3 separate regions of the Homo sapiens genome follow, and all the other regions are linked to region 3. The links are contacts of gene promoters, found by promoter capture Hi-C in blood cells and fetal thymus (Javierre and others, 2016). All regions are on one chromosome and are shown on one strand. Each heading gives the region's core, a stretch centred on a gene start or on the middle of the fragment in contact. The rest is flanking DNA. Distances are from core to core; before and after follow the strand shown.

Evidence for each region. The method cuts DNA at HindIII sites, captures the fragments that hold promoters and counts their contacts. A CHiCAGO score of 5 or more calls a contact.
Region 1: a fragment that was not itself captured here is called in contact with the fragment with the promoter of CCDC89 in region 3 in 6 of 17 cell types (total CD8 T cells, naive CD4 T cells, non-activated CD4 T cells and 3 more); the score reaches 9.9 in total CD8 T cells.
Region 2: a contact is called between a fragment that was not itself captured here and the fragment with the promoter of CCDC89 in region 3, in 2 of 17 cell types (naive CD4 T cells and total CD8 T cells). The highest score is 6.1, in naive CD4 T cells.

The regions. Positions count from the first base shown.
Region 1 is chr11:85,800,060-85,804,726 of GRCh38, reverse strand. All of the region lies in intron 1 of SYTL2 (synaptotagmin like 2), which reads left to right. Among named protein-coding and RNA genes, the nearest start is that of SYTL2, 8.7 kb to the left of the region's middle. The HindIII fragment of the contact is 228 bases long and covers 3,194-3,421 here.
Region 2 is chr11:85,756,751-85,761,201 of GRCh38, reverse strand. SYTL2 (synaptotagmin like 2) reads left to right here. Exons shown (of 20, transcript NM_206927.4): 2 at 3,088-3,577. The coding sequence starts at 3,477. Among named protein-coding and RNA genes, the nearest start is that of SYTL2, 52 kb to the left of the region's middle. The HindIII fragment of the contact is 947 bases long and covers 2,546-3,492 here.
Region 3 is chr11:85,684,879-85,689,082 of GRCh38, reverse strand. It overlaps CCDC89 (coiled-coil domain containing 89), which reads left to right and starts at 2,888. Exons shown (of 1, transcript NM_152723.3): 1 at 2,888-4,204. The coding sequence starts at 2,953. The coding sequence ends at 4,077. RefSeq lists enhancers at 3,092-3,591, 3,592-4,093. The HindIII fragment of the contact is 2,434 bases long and covers 2,274-4,204 here.

The DNA.
Region 1 (4,667 bases), core at 2,058-4,557, 120 kb before region 3:
TTGGTTGCTAATGTAACATACTATATCACGTCTAATTGCTTCAGACTGAAAAACAGTCTGAAGCAAGTGAATGATGAAGATGTCTGACATTTATTGAGCACTTACTATGTACCAGGCAGTATTCCAAGCACTATACCTACATCAATTTATTTAATCCTCACAATAATCTATTATTGATACTATTTTTGGTACTATGATTGTTTCTATTTTATGATGAGGAAATTGAGGCCCATATAATTTAAATAAGTTGCCCAAGGTGACACAGCCAATAAGAACAACAACAGAGATTTGAATCCAGGCAGTTTGACTCCAGAGCCCATGCCTTGGATCTTTGGAAGATAATCTGATATAATTGTACGCTATCTGTACCCTACTTGTATTCTGCTCTACTGTTCATGAAATTACGTACGAAGCTGCAAACTGAGTTCTAGATGCAGAATGAGGGTACATAGCTTGCGATAGTGTTTTGACTACACAGGATAACCCTTGAAAATGGGCTTGTTGCAAAAATTTAGAAAATTTTGTTACACAGAGATAGTAATAATTAATAAAGTTTAAGTATTTCAGGAAATATTAGGGGGTGACACCAGACTACAAAGTGATGAGTCAGCAACTTAGTATACTATTTAAGAATCAACACTACCTGGAATGTAGTAACTGAAGTGTTGTGTTTAGGAAGTTGAATACAGGTAAATCACATAATTTATAGTCCTTTACTTAGAAAAGCAAAAATAGTATCTTTCTTTTCCATTCCTTTTAGGGATGCTACAAATAACAACAACATAATAAACAGAATGTCTGTTATCTATCTAGTGCATACTCTGTGTCAGTCCCTTTGCTATGTCCTTGTTCCTCTAATTGGCAGGACTACTCTCTAAAGTAGGTGATAATTATCCACTTTACTGATGAGGAAATGGAAGCACAGACAAGTCCTTTGCCCAAGGTCACAGAGGTGGTAAATGGCCAAACAAACAATTGATCCCAGGTTACTTTGACTGGAAAACCTGTACTCTTTTCACAACCCAGTATTGCCTCTTTGGGGGGAGTTCTCTAAAGGAAAGATGTTATATTCATGCTTACTGAATCCTGTGTTAAGACATATGTTTGTCACTAGTCTTGAAACAGATTATAAATATTCAAAACTAGGACTGTTCCAGAAAACCTAGGATATTTCTGTTACCATAGAGATGTAATGATGGGCTTAACATAATCTTCCAGGAAAAACAACTGGGTTCTCCCAGCGCTCCATGGCCTAAGGAGTCAGCCACTTATTCCTGCAGTTATGAAGCAGCACCACCCAGGACTAGAGCAACTGAAATACTATGGAGAACTGGCAAGAAGACCTTAATTACAGTTTATTTTGGGGCATCACAACTTGATAAGTGAGAGGGAATATACTGAAGAACTTGAGTAGAAATGAAGTTGATTTTCATGTTGTGCATGATATGAGGATTTTATAAAGATAAAGAATTTTTATATGAGTTGTCCTAGCAGGACCACTTAGATATGACACATTTTTACAGTTTTATAATATGCATTCTTGAACCTTTTTGAAATAGTATCATACTACCTTTCTGCAAATGTATTCACTGTGTTCTTGCCAGATTCCTAGCAACACCTTGCCATCTGATGGTTATAGCAGATGATTTTGAGGTGCAATCATAGGTGGAAGGTCAGAAGCCAGAGTTATGAAGCATAGTGGCCAACAAGGTGATGGGAGAGGGGTCATGGTTAAGAAGATGTTTCTGGCTAGTGTCCATGTTTCCCATAGAGGCCACTTTGTAGTGGAAATAAACTTGGCTTTGGAATAAGATAAGCTTGAATTTAAACATGAATGCACTTACTAGTTGTGTTATAAAGCAACTAATTTAACTGTGGTTAGCAGCTTTTGAGTTTCTTTGGGATAGGACTCTCAACTTCCTTTTCTGCAAAAATTGCATTCATTTTCTCACAAGATGGGGTAATAAATATATTAAAGCCTCTGACTTTGTGTCTTGCATAGAGTCACTATTCAATAAATGTCAGTTCTATTCATTTTCCTTTTCTTCCTTTCCTTTCTCTCTTCCCTTCTCTTTCTTTCCTCTCTTTCCTTCTCTTTCCTTCCCTTCCTCTTGGCTATTGAAGGTGACAATGGTGAAGTAGTACTTACAGTACAGTGTGGTAAGTGTTCTAGTTAGAAATGCATACAGCTTATTGTGAGATTGCTGAGAGAGCAACTGCCAGGGAAAGTAGGAAGGTGACAGATAAGCTAGACCTATGGCTGAGTAGGAGTTTGCTAGGTTAAGAAGAGACTGAGGGCTGGGTGCATTGGCTCATGCCTGTAATCCTAGCACTTTGGGAGGCTGGGCCTGGTGGTGGGCACCTGTAATTCCAGCTACTTGGGAGGCTGAGGCAGGAGAATTGCTTGAACCTGGGAGGCAGAGGTTGCAGTGAGCTGAGATCATGCCACTGCACTCCAGCCTGGGTGACAGAGCAAGGCTCCGGCTCACAAAAAAAAAAAAAAAAAGAAAAGAAAAAGAAGAAAAGAGAGTGTGGTGGGGAGGAAACGTTGAAGGATGTTTCAAGTTCAAAGCCATGGAGGCAGGGAGAGAAGGGATACCAGGAGAATGGGGAGGCCAGGCACGGTGGCCCATGCCTGTATTCCCAGCACTTTGGGAGCCTGAGGCGTGTGGATCACAAGGTCATGAGTTCAAGACCAGCCTGGCTAACATAGTAAAACCCCATCTCTACTAAAAATACAAAAACTTAGCCGGGCATGGTGGTGGGTGCCTGTAATCCCAGCTACTCTGGAGGCTGAGGCAGGAGTATCGCTTGAACCTGGGAGGTGGAGTTTGCAGTGAGCCGAGATCGCGCCATTGCACTCCAGCGACAGTGTAAGACTCCATCTGAAAAAAAAAAAAAAAAGAACGGGGAAGAGACTACTGAGTTGGCACACAGGACAGGTAAATTATGGTTGGTGGCGCTGCTAATGTAGTGGAGTTTCACCAAAGACCAAAGGTGAAATGAGGCTACAATCTGACCCTTTATCTTGGAGGCTGCCCTTTATCTTTGAAGTTTCTCAATATTGTAAGTGAGATAATGAAATTTCTCTTTAGGATAATAACACTGCTCACAGTATGAAAGATGGGTTTGGGGTTGATTGGCATACTTGTTTGCACTTGTGTGTACAGAGGAGATAACATATATTAAAGCTTTTTTGGTAAAAGGTAATGGTACTTGTAGAGATGGTGCTGCTATTCAAGACTTCTATAGGAGAGTACATAATGTGTTGGAAAATGGTGACTCCATATGCTAATTTATGGACTGGATCACATTGGAGCCAAATTGTTCCAAAAATATAAATATGTCTTACCTTGAGTTAAGCATGTTTACCACTTTTCAACAAAGGACCAGGTGTGTTTCTGGCAAAATGATTGAAGCTTGAATCCAGAAAAAAAAAGTTTAAGGCCCCTTTTTGTATTTCCAAAATTGAGTTTAAGGTTCTAGGGATAGTAGATACCTAATGCATGCTGAATTTGGTTAGTGCTTTGTAGAATTTCTTGTGCTTAGCATGCACTATTGTGGTTAGCAGCTGTTGAGTTTCTTAGAGGGAGGAGCAGAGAGGCTCAGACTACAAAACTATCATCTATGGGAAATGGCAAGAAGCTAGGTGGCCCTTCTCCCTAAGCAGTCAGGATCAGACCCAGGTACACACAGATGTGTGTTTCTGTGTTTCTAGCCCTGTGTTTATGTTTTCCGGATAGTTGCCTGCTTTATCTATGCTGGAGGGAAAACCCGACATTACCTGGGTTCCTTGGGGAAAGCCACTGGGGAGATTAGCCTTGGTTACTAGAGGTGCCTCAATGTGAAGACAGTCACCTGCATCTGCACTTGAACTATTAATAATGTGTGGCCAGGAGCCAAGGGTGTGGAGGAGACGTGGCTCTACCGGTCAGATTCTGCAGGGGACAGATGTGACCCTGTTGTGGAACTGAGCACAGGTATTTGCTTGGTGTGTGAGGAAGTGAGGAGGGAGTGGATGTGTTTGTTTTTTTCCTTCTCTGGCATACTTTTTCCAAGTCCACTCTCTCAGCAGCCAGGAACTAAAAGCAAGTCTTGGGCTGACATTCAGTGCATAGGGAGTAAGTTGTACCTTTTAAATTCCTGGGGGCCAGGCATAGTGGCTCATTCCTGTAATCTCAGCAGTTTGGGAGGCTGAGGTGGGAGGATTGCTTGAACCCAGGAGTTTGAGACCAGCCTGAGCAACATAGCAAGACCCCATCTCTACAGAAAAATAGAAAAAAATTAGCAGGGCATGTTGGTGCACACCTGTAGTCCCAGCTACTCAGGAGGCTGAAGTGGGAGGATCACTTGAGCCTGGGATATCAAGGGTGCAGTGAGCCATGATTGTGCTGCTGAACTCCAGCCTGGGCGGCAGAAACCCAGGAAACTCTTGGAGACATCCTACATTGGGGTTTTGGAATACTAGACCTTTGAACCTGGACTCTTTCATGTGCCAATCCCCAAGCCCTTTCACTGTGTTAGTCAAGTCTCAGTCTAGTCCTTTGATAGATTCTGGTTTGGTCTCTTTACTTTGAGACCAAAGCACCAAAACTGATGAACTGTGTGTGGGAATGGTTAGGTCCTTGAGGGTGTGTTTGTGTGCATCACTACCTGTAGATGCAGTG
Region 2 (4,451 bases), core at 1,770-4,269, 72 kb before region 3:
TAATTTAATTATTTGGTATTCAAAAACTTATTTTTATTATTTAGTTTGATTGTTTCCATCCATTGCCATATGAACTCCACAAAGGCAGGAAGTTTTTCTGTCTTGTTCCCTTGCTGCACCTCCAGTGCTTAGAATAGTGCCAGTCTCTCAATAAATCTTTGTCAAGTGAGTGAGGGAAATGTTCAGTTAGCTCCCATGCTGGACATCATCCAGAATATTAGGAGTTGGGTGAGCACCTCATACTGCAGAATCTTGATTGCCCTCTGAGGGCTCTCTTACAGTTTGATTGGGCACTGATTCCTACCTACCCAATTAAAAGGGAAGGGTTCCAGCCCTTCACTCCTTTGTAAAGTGGAAACATTGCCCTTTGCCTCACTAACAGCCTATTTTAAGGGAGAAATTTTAACCCTCAGAGCTTTGACACAGAAGCACTTGTTAGGTTGTATTCTGCTTGAAGGCGTGGAAGCCAATGTTGCCCATTTCAGCAACCCTGCCAGTTACCACTGCTAGACGACCTAAGTTTTTCATTGTTGTTGTTTTCTTCCTGTCCACCACTCCTTGAATTTAAAGTCTCACATCGAACCAACCAAATGGCAGTGTAAGACCTCATTGGGAACCTGGGTCCCAGAATGTGGCCTAAATCTATTTTCTTGCCAGCTTTTGAGATCTAAGGAAGTTACTGCACGTGAAAGAAAGGAAATAATTGAGATAGCCATCTCTTGGTGATATTGTATATTTGAATCAGGTTCATTTATTCATTTGCTCATTCTTTTATTTGTTCACATTCAGAGACTCACAATCAAGAGAGACTGAGAGTAGATCATCACAGCAGTGGATGTGTATTTGGAGGAGAAAGTGTTTGTATTAGCAGGTTCCTGCTGCGGGAGTATCGTATAACAACTCCCAAACCTCAGTGGCTTCCAACAACAAATACTTAGTTTTTTCTTTTATATCTATAGGTCAGCAGGGATACCTGCTTCAGGGAGGTCAGGTTCAGGTCTGTCCTTTTATCTCTTTCTGGAACCCAGGATGAAGAGGCAATGAATAACTGGGACAAGCTCTTCTCATGGCATGTGGCAGGAATACAAGAAGCCAGATCAAACCACAAAAGCACATTTACAGCCTATGCTTGCATCACATTTGCTAACATTCCATTGGCCAAAGCGAGTCACAGGCCAAGCCCAACATTAGGAGGATAGGGATGAATTCTTTGCTTACTCTGGTGGGAACATGATAGTATAGTTCTGTTACAGGGAGGAAATGAAGAGTTAGGAATAATCATTGAATCTGCTGCAACTTTAACTTGGGGTATGGAAGTTATGGAAGGCTTCATGGAGGTGGTAACTTTGATTTGTCTTGAAGGGTAAGTAGTTTTCAAGATGAACAAGCAGGTAGTAGCATATGCAAGCACATGCAAATTAAAAAGAAAATGAAGTAATGTCTTAATATTTATTTGAGTAATTACTGTGGACAGTATGCAGAGAGCTAGAGGAAATTAAAACAAAGGTCATTAGATTCCCTGTCAATGAAGCCCAAACTTCATGGGGGGAGATCAGAAAGAGACATAATACAAAAGAGAAATATATTACTAAGTATAGTCTTATTCAGCTGGATGGAAAAAAAGTGTGAACTCAGAGCGGAAGCTAGAATATAGTTTTAGTAGCTATTTTTGGTACAGAATGCAAGACATGTGCTCTTTTTATATTCATTATTTCATTTAATCCTTACAATCTGTGAGGGACATCCTAATGTCAAGCACAAATGAGAAAACAGCTTCACAGTGGTCGGTAACTTGCCCAATGACTTATAGCTAGTAAGTGGTAGAAGGATAACTTCCCAGTAATTCTGTTTTTCAAGTAATTAATTTTTATAAATTTTATTCACTAATGTACATACTGTTTTATTCTTAAGTGGGGCTGCTTTAAAATTTTTTTTTCTTTCTTTTTTTTTTTTTTTGATAAGGAGTCTCACTCTGTCACCCAGGCTGGAGTGCAGTGGTGTGATCCCGGCTCACTGCAACCTCCGCCTCCCGGGTTCAAGAGATTCTCCTGCCTCAGCCTCCTGAGTAGCTGGGATTACAGGCGTGTGTCACCACACCCAGCTAATTTTTGTATTTTTTAGTAGAGACGGGGTTTCACCATGTTGGTCAGGCTGGTCTCGAACTCCTGACCTCAGGTGATCCACCCACCTTGGCCTCCCAAAGTGCTAGGATTACAGGCATGAACCACTGCACCCAGCCTGCTTTAAAATTTACTAAAGGTTTTTAGTGTGTATGTTCAGCACTGCACTTGTTAAAAGTGCCCCAACCTTGAGTGGATCACCTCCGAATTTCTGTAGGGCTGTGTCATTCTTCACTTCTCACTTCCTTCCCATTACATATGTATTGAAGATGCCTCAAAGAAAATAGGATTCTTGCACATTGTGCAACTGAAAAATCCTCACTTTGGATGGTGAGGTGTTTTGAAACTCTGCCTCTTCCTTTCCTCCAGTTTATATACACACACAGGTAGGTGTTTTTCCCCTGAGAAATGAAAGTAGACAAGCTTGTTAGGTTCCTCTAGGTCCAGCAAAGGTTAGCAGTGAGACTGGATGAAGAATAACAATTCTCACTCTTCTGCAAACTATCTCTATCTAATACTAGTTCTCCTGTTAATATGGAGCACATATATAGTACAGTGGAATATTCTTACTTGTGAAGAGGTGAGCATTTAAAATTTTTATTTCTAGATTCTTGCTTGACCACTGGAATCACATATCCCTGATCTTACTGACCTTTAACATGACTTTTTAGCCTAGCATCCCCAGAGTTTGCAGAGAGAGAACCAGTTCATTTTTGCAACCATCCTTTACTCAGGTGGATCGTTAAACACTGACAGGCATTTTTGTGGGTTCTCCATCTTGGCCGTCTGGAATAGGGTTGAAGCATGTTTCATGACCCATTTACCATTTGCTCAGGAAGCTGGCTGAACTGGTTTCCTTGATCTCAGAGACCATCTCGCATGGCCATTTAAAAATCTTGTAGTAATGAGTAGTGCTTATAGGAACTGCCTCTCACTGTCTGGTGTTTGCTGTCTCATGATTCCCCAGGTAGGTGATGCTCTGATGCTGCTGCCTCTTATGAATTGACGACAGGTGCAGAGAGAGAATAAACTGTGTCTAAGACTGGACCAGAGAGTGAGTGTGCTGGAAGCCACCATAGGAACAAGCGACCTGTTTGGCAAGGAATACAGCATCCTTCTGAGAGCCTCTTCTCGACACTATCCCACAGACCAGGACTTCCTCATGGGAAAGAGCACTTAGGATCTTGCTATCAGCTGCCCTAAACTTTTGCTGAGCCAAAATAAGACTTTGATGCAGAACTGAACAAGATATTTCATTTTTGTGTGTTTTAATCTTCCTGGTTGCAGTCTTAGTTGTTCAGCCCTGAGAATTTTGAGCCACATTTGTTGCTATTATTTTTGCATGCACTTTTCAAAATGATTGACTTAAGCTTCCTGACTGAAGAGGAACAAGAGGCCATCATGAAGGTTTTGCAGCGGGATGCTGCTCTGAAGAGGGCCGAAGAAGAGAGAGTCAGGTAAGAGGCCAGAGAAGCCTTGGGCATGAGGGAAGGAAGAGGCAGTCTGTACGAAAATAGGACACTGGGGTTTTTTTCAACTATAAGTGGTAGTTCTGACTCGAAGACTGAATTTATGGATTCCAATTTTAGGTTTACTTCCTGGACAAAACATTTTTCCTCTTGGTGCCTCTTAATTTATCCTACTGGACTCCTACCAGAAATAGGGTCTTGATTAAAAACCTAACTAAATTCCTTTAACTTATTAAATACTGAGATAAAAATGAAATGTATACAACCACATACATCTACATTTGTGTGTGTGTGTGTATTTCTATCCACTTAAAAAAACTGGATCTACTTTTTTTTAACTGAATCATGAACCAAATTAGAATTTTAAAAAATTTTTAGAATTTTGAAAAGAAAATAAATTAAACTAGCTCACATTTCTGCATGCTTTCAGAAATGTTGGAATTGGTTTTAATGGCAACTGAAAGTATTCTCTGAGCCAATTTTTCATTTGTCTTGGGTCCCATAAAGAGGAGTGGCAACTTTGATACACTATTCTTGTTGGGTGGAACCCAAATGTTCCATGTCAACATTCCTGCCACTTTCATTCACCTTTGTTGTCAAACAAGCACTAGGCCAGGATGCTGAAGAACTTGACTTTGTCCAGGCCCTGCCATTTACTGCCTGTGTAATCTTGGGCTTTGAAGGCAGCGACAGGCTTCCTGAATGTAAGTTAGTATTATTAATTTTATGATTCTCGCTCCAGGAGTTATCCAAAAGGAGCATAAGATATGTTCTTACTTCCTGGGACACAGGACCATGAATAATGGCTTTATTTTTACCATTTCCGTATCTTGACACTGATTTAACGTGGATGATTTATAAA
Region 3 (4,204 bases), core at 1,639-4,138:
AATATCCTACTGTTTATGTAGTTGTTAAAATTTCAGCTTAGGAAATTTCCCCAGTCTTCAATCTTGGTTTCCATATATAGACAAGAAATTCAGGATTTGAAACATGAGACCTTGATCTTTGACAGTGAGGGAAGAACCTGAAACTCTTCTTTCAGATTTGTTTCGCTCCCAGTGAAATCTGAAGCATTTAAAAATTCATCTCATATCTATAATGACACCCAGGGTTTTTCCTTATCATCATGACTTGGGAGATAGTAAATCTGATCACCAGAAACTGTGACCACAAGAATAGTCAACTCTTTTCCCTACCCTTAATTTTCACAGGATTGAAATCATCTGAATTTTAAGTTTTGTATTTTGCCTTTTTCAGTTGTATTTCTAACATAAGACTTTTCCATGCTATTAAAAATTACCTATAAATGTAATAAGTTCTAGTGGCTGTACAATATTTTTTGTATGAATATATCATAATTTTTGTAACCATTCCCTTTTTTTTTTGAAAACTTGGGTTTCCAACTTTTAGTTGTTACAAACCACACTACAATGAAAAGTTTTGAGCAAAATGTTTTCTTTCAGATTATTTCCTAAGCAAAGATCTCCGCAGAAGAATTACTAGTTCGGAAGCCATAAAAATATCTTAATTTCTCAGTACCTACTGTCAACTGACTTTCACCAACAGTTTAAGAGAGTGCCTATTTCAATACTCCTTTCTAGTCCTGGCTTGTCTTAAGAGAAAATTTTTTGACTAATTTGATACGTGAAATTATATCTTTTTTTTTTTTTTTTTTTTTTTGAGACGGAGTCTCGCTTTGTTGCCCAGGCTGGAGTGCAGTGGCGCGATCTCGGCTCACTGCAAGCTCCGCCTCCCGGGTTCACGCCATTGTCCTGCCTCAGCCTCCTGAGTAGCTGGGACTACAGGCGCCTGCCACCACGCCTGGCTAATTTTTTGTATTTTTTTGGTAGAGACGGAGTTTCACCGTGTTAGCCAGGATGGTCTCAATGTCCTGACCTCGTGATCCGCCTGCCTCGGCCTCCCAAAGTGCTGGGATTACAGGCGTGAGCCACCACACCCGGCCGAAATTATGTCTAATTTTAACTTGTATTTATTGGATCACTGTAGACGTTCAGTTCTTGGCCATTTTTGTGAATTTAATTGTTTATTTTTTAGATGTTAATGTTTCGTTGATATGTATAAAATATTTATTTAAAAAAGGTAGTGTCTGGGCTGGGTGCGATGGCTCATGCCTGTAATCTCAGCACTTTGGGAGGCTGAGGCGGGTGGATCATTTAAGGTCAGGAGTTCAAGACCAGCTTGACCAACATGGTTAAACTCCGTCTCTACTAAAAATACAAAAATTAGCCAGGTGTGGTTGTATGTAATTGTAATCCCAGCTACTCAGGAGACTGAGGCAGGAGAATTGCTTGAGCCCGGGAGGCGGAGGTTGCAGTGAATCGAGATCGTACCACTGCACTCCAGCCTGGGCGATGGAGGGAGACTCTGTCTCAAAAAAAAAAAAAAAAAAAAAAAAAAAGTAGTGTCTGTCATATTAGGGATATTTTTCTCAATTTGATTTTTACCTTCAACATCCACTTAATACACATTTATCTGAATCTCCCCCATGTGCCAGGCACTAGTCTAATCATCAAGGATGAAATAGACACAGTCCCTGCCCTTAAGGATCTTACAGTCTAACAGAGGGAAGCTGGCAGATAAACAGTGACTGCAATAAAATTTTCACATCCTCCACCAGAAGTACAAATAGCTATAGCGGATGCACTAAAAGATGTGAGTGACCAATTGGACATGTAGGGGCCAGGAATAGGCTTCAGAGACGATTCTTAACTAAGAATAAAAAGCTTTACTAGAGTGACAAGGGACAAAGTAGGAAAGGCATTCCAAGTAGAGGAACACCTAAAGATAGGGCGAGAGAGCTGGTTAGTGGATTTGGGTTTGGCTTCAATATTTGGGTTTGAGGAGTAAAATGTCAAGAAAATCCAGTGGAAGAAGGGGCTGGAGAGACCTCAGAAGTCACATAATTTAAAAAATTATACATAACTTTTTGAGTAAGCTTTCCCTTTCTGATCTTACATAATGTTTAAGATAAAAAAAAAATCCTTCCTAGCCCCAGAGATTTGATGTTTACCTTCATTTTCTTCTAGTTTCTGTTTACATTTAACTAATCTATCAGGAGTTGACTTTGGCATATAATGGCAAGCTTCATTTGAATCTTATTTTTTCTGTTTTAATGTTTATCTGTGTGGTTCACTAAGCTTCTTTCTGTAACCTTATTTTGCTAATGGGTAAAAACAGGGGGTGTTAAATATCTAATAAAGAGTATTTATGCCCAGGTGGGGACAATGCTAAGAACAACAAAAGAAATTTCACTGGTGTTTTCTATTTTAATACTTAAATACCAAAAGGGAGCTGTGCCAAACATCACGGGTGCAGATATGCAGGCTTTTAGGGTCCTGGCTCTCAGAATACCACTACTACTTTGTATTCATAGACTGAAATTTTTTGAGGAGCCAACCATGTTTCCACAAACAGTAATTTATTCAAACGATAACTGAAGAGGGGAGAGGGAGGATAAATATATCATTGCCTGCTTCATTTGTTTACTACTACCAGAAATTAGGTGGAGTCAGGCTTCCTCCCCTGATGCTGGCTGGAGATTGAGTGGGGTTGGCATCTCTGTGCTGTACAGGCCAGACACTGAGACAGTTGACAACTGAGAGCTGTGATTGGTTAGAAAGGCAAAAGTAACCCGACCAGATTGGCTCTGGACTCCCCCAGATTCCCCTGTTGTTACTTCATAGCATTCTGAAGACCTGTCCACCAATTACAGGGCTCCTTACTGGAAAAACCAACTGCTGGGGAGTGCCAAGAGTCCCTAGCAACACCCTGCAGCGTTTGAAATCTGAGGGGAAAAGACTGTAGTCAGCCCTTAGTGGATGAGAGCGCCTATGCTCCAGAAACAGCAGGCTCCCAGGATGGACACCCCGCCCCCTGAAGAACGCTTAGAGAAGCAAAATGAAAAACTGAACAACCAGGAAGAGGAGACGGAGTTTAAGGAACTGGACGGTCTGAGGGAAGCCTTGGCAAACCTCCGGGGACTGTCAGAGGAGGAGAGGAGCGAGAAGGCTATGCTTCGCTCCCGCATTGAAGAGCAGTCCCAGCTCATCTGCATCCTGAAGCGGAGGTCAGATGAGGCCCTGGAGCGCTGCCAGATCCTAGAGCTGCTCAATGCAGAGCTGGAGGAGAAGATGATGCAGGAGGCTGAGAAGCTCAAGGCCCAGGGTGAGTACAGTCGGAAACTAGAGGAACGCTTTATGACCCTAGCAGCCAACCACGAGTTGATGCTCCGCTTCAAGGATGAATACAAGAGTGAGAACATCAAGCTGAGGGAGGAGAATGAGAAGCTGAGGCTGGAGAATAGCAGCCTCTTCAGCCAGGCTCTGAAGGATGAGGAGGCGAAAGTATTACAGCTCACAGTCCGGTGTGAGGCCCTCACTGGGGAGCTAGAAACGCTGAAGGAGAGGTGTGCTCAGGATGCCTGCCAGGCACAGGCGCGCGAGAAGGAGCTGCTGGAGCTACAGAGCCAGCAGGCCTGCACCCACACCAAGGAGACAGAACAGCTGCGCAGCCAGCTGCAGACCCTCAAGCAGCAGCACCAGCAGGCTGTGGAGCAGATAGCTAAGGCAGAGGAGACACACAGCAGCCTGAGCCAGGAGCTGCAGGCCAGGCTGCAGACCGTCACTAGAGAGAAAGAGGAGTTGCTGCAGCTGTCCATTGAAAGGGGCAAAGTGCTTCAGAACAAACAGGCAGAGATCTGCCAGCTTGAGGAAAAGTTGGAGATAGCAAATGAAGACAGGAAGCATGCGCTGGAGCGGTTTGAGCAAGAGGCAGTGGCTGTGGACAGCAACTTGAGAGTCAGGGAGCTTCAGCGCAAAGTAGATGGGATCCAGAAGGCCTACGATGAACTCAGGCTGCAGTCTGAAGCCTTCAAAAAGCACAGCTTGGATCTTTTAAGCAAGGAGAGAGAACTCAATGGCAAACTCCGCCATCTCTCTCCATAGGGAAGTTTCTGCTTCCTCTGGCCTGCAATTCAGAATTCAAATATTTGCGTCTTAGCATTATGGCAAGAGTAAAGATGATATCCCATTTATTATACTTTCAAGCACAAAAGGCAACTCAAAGAAAAGC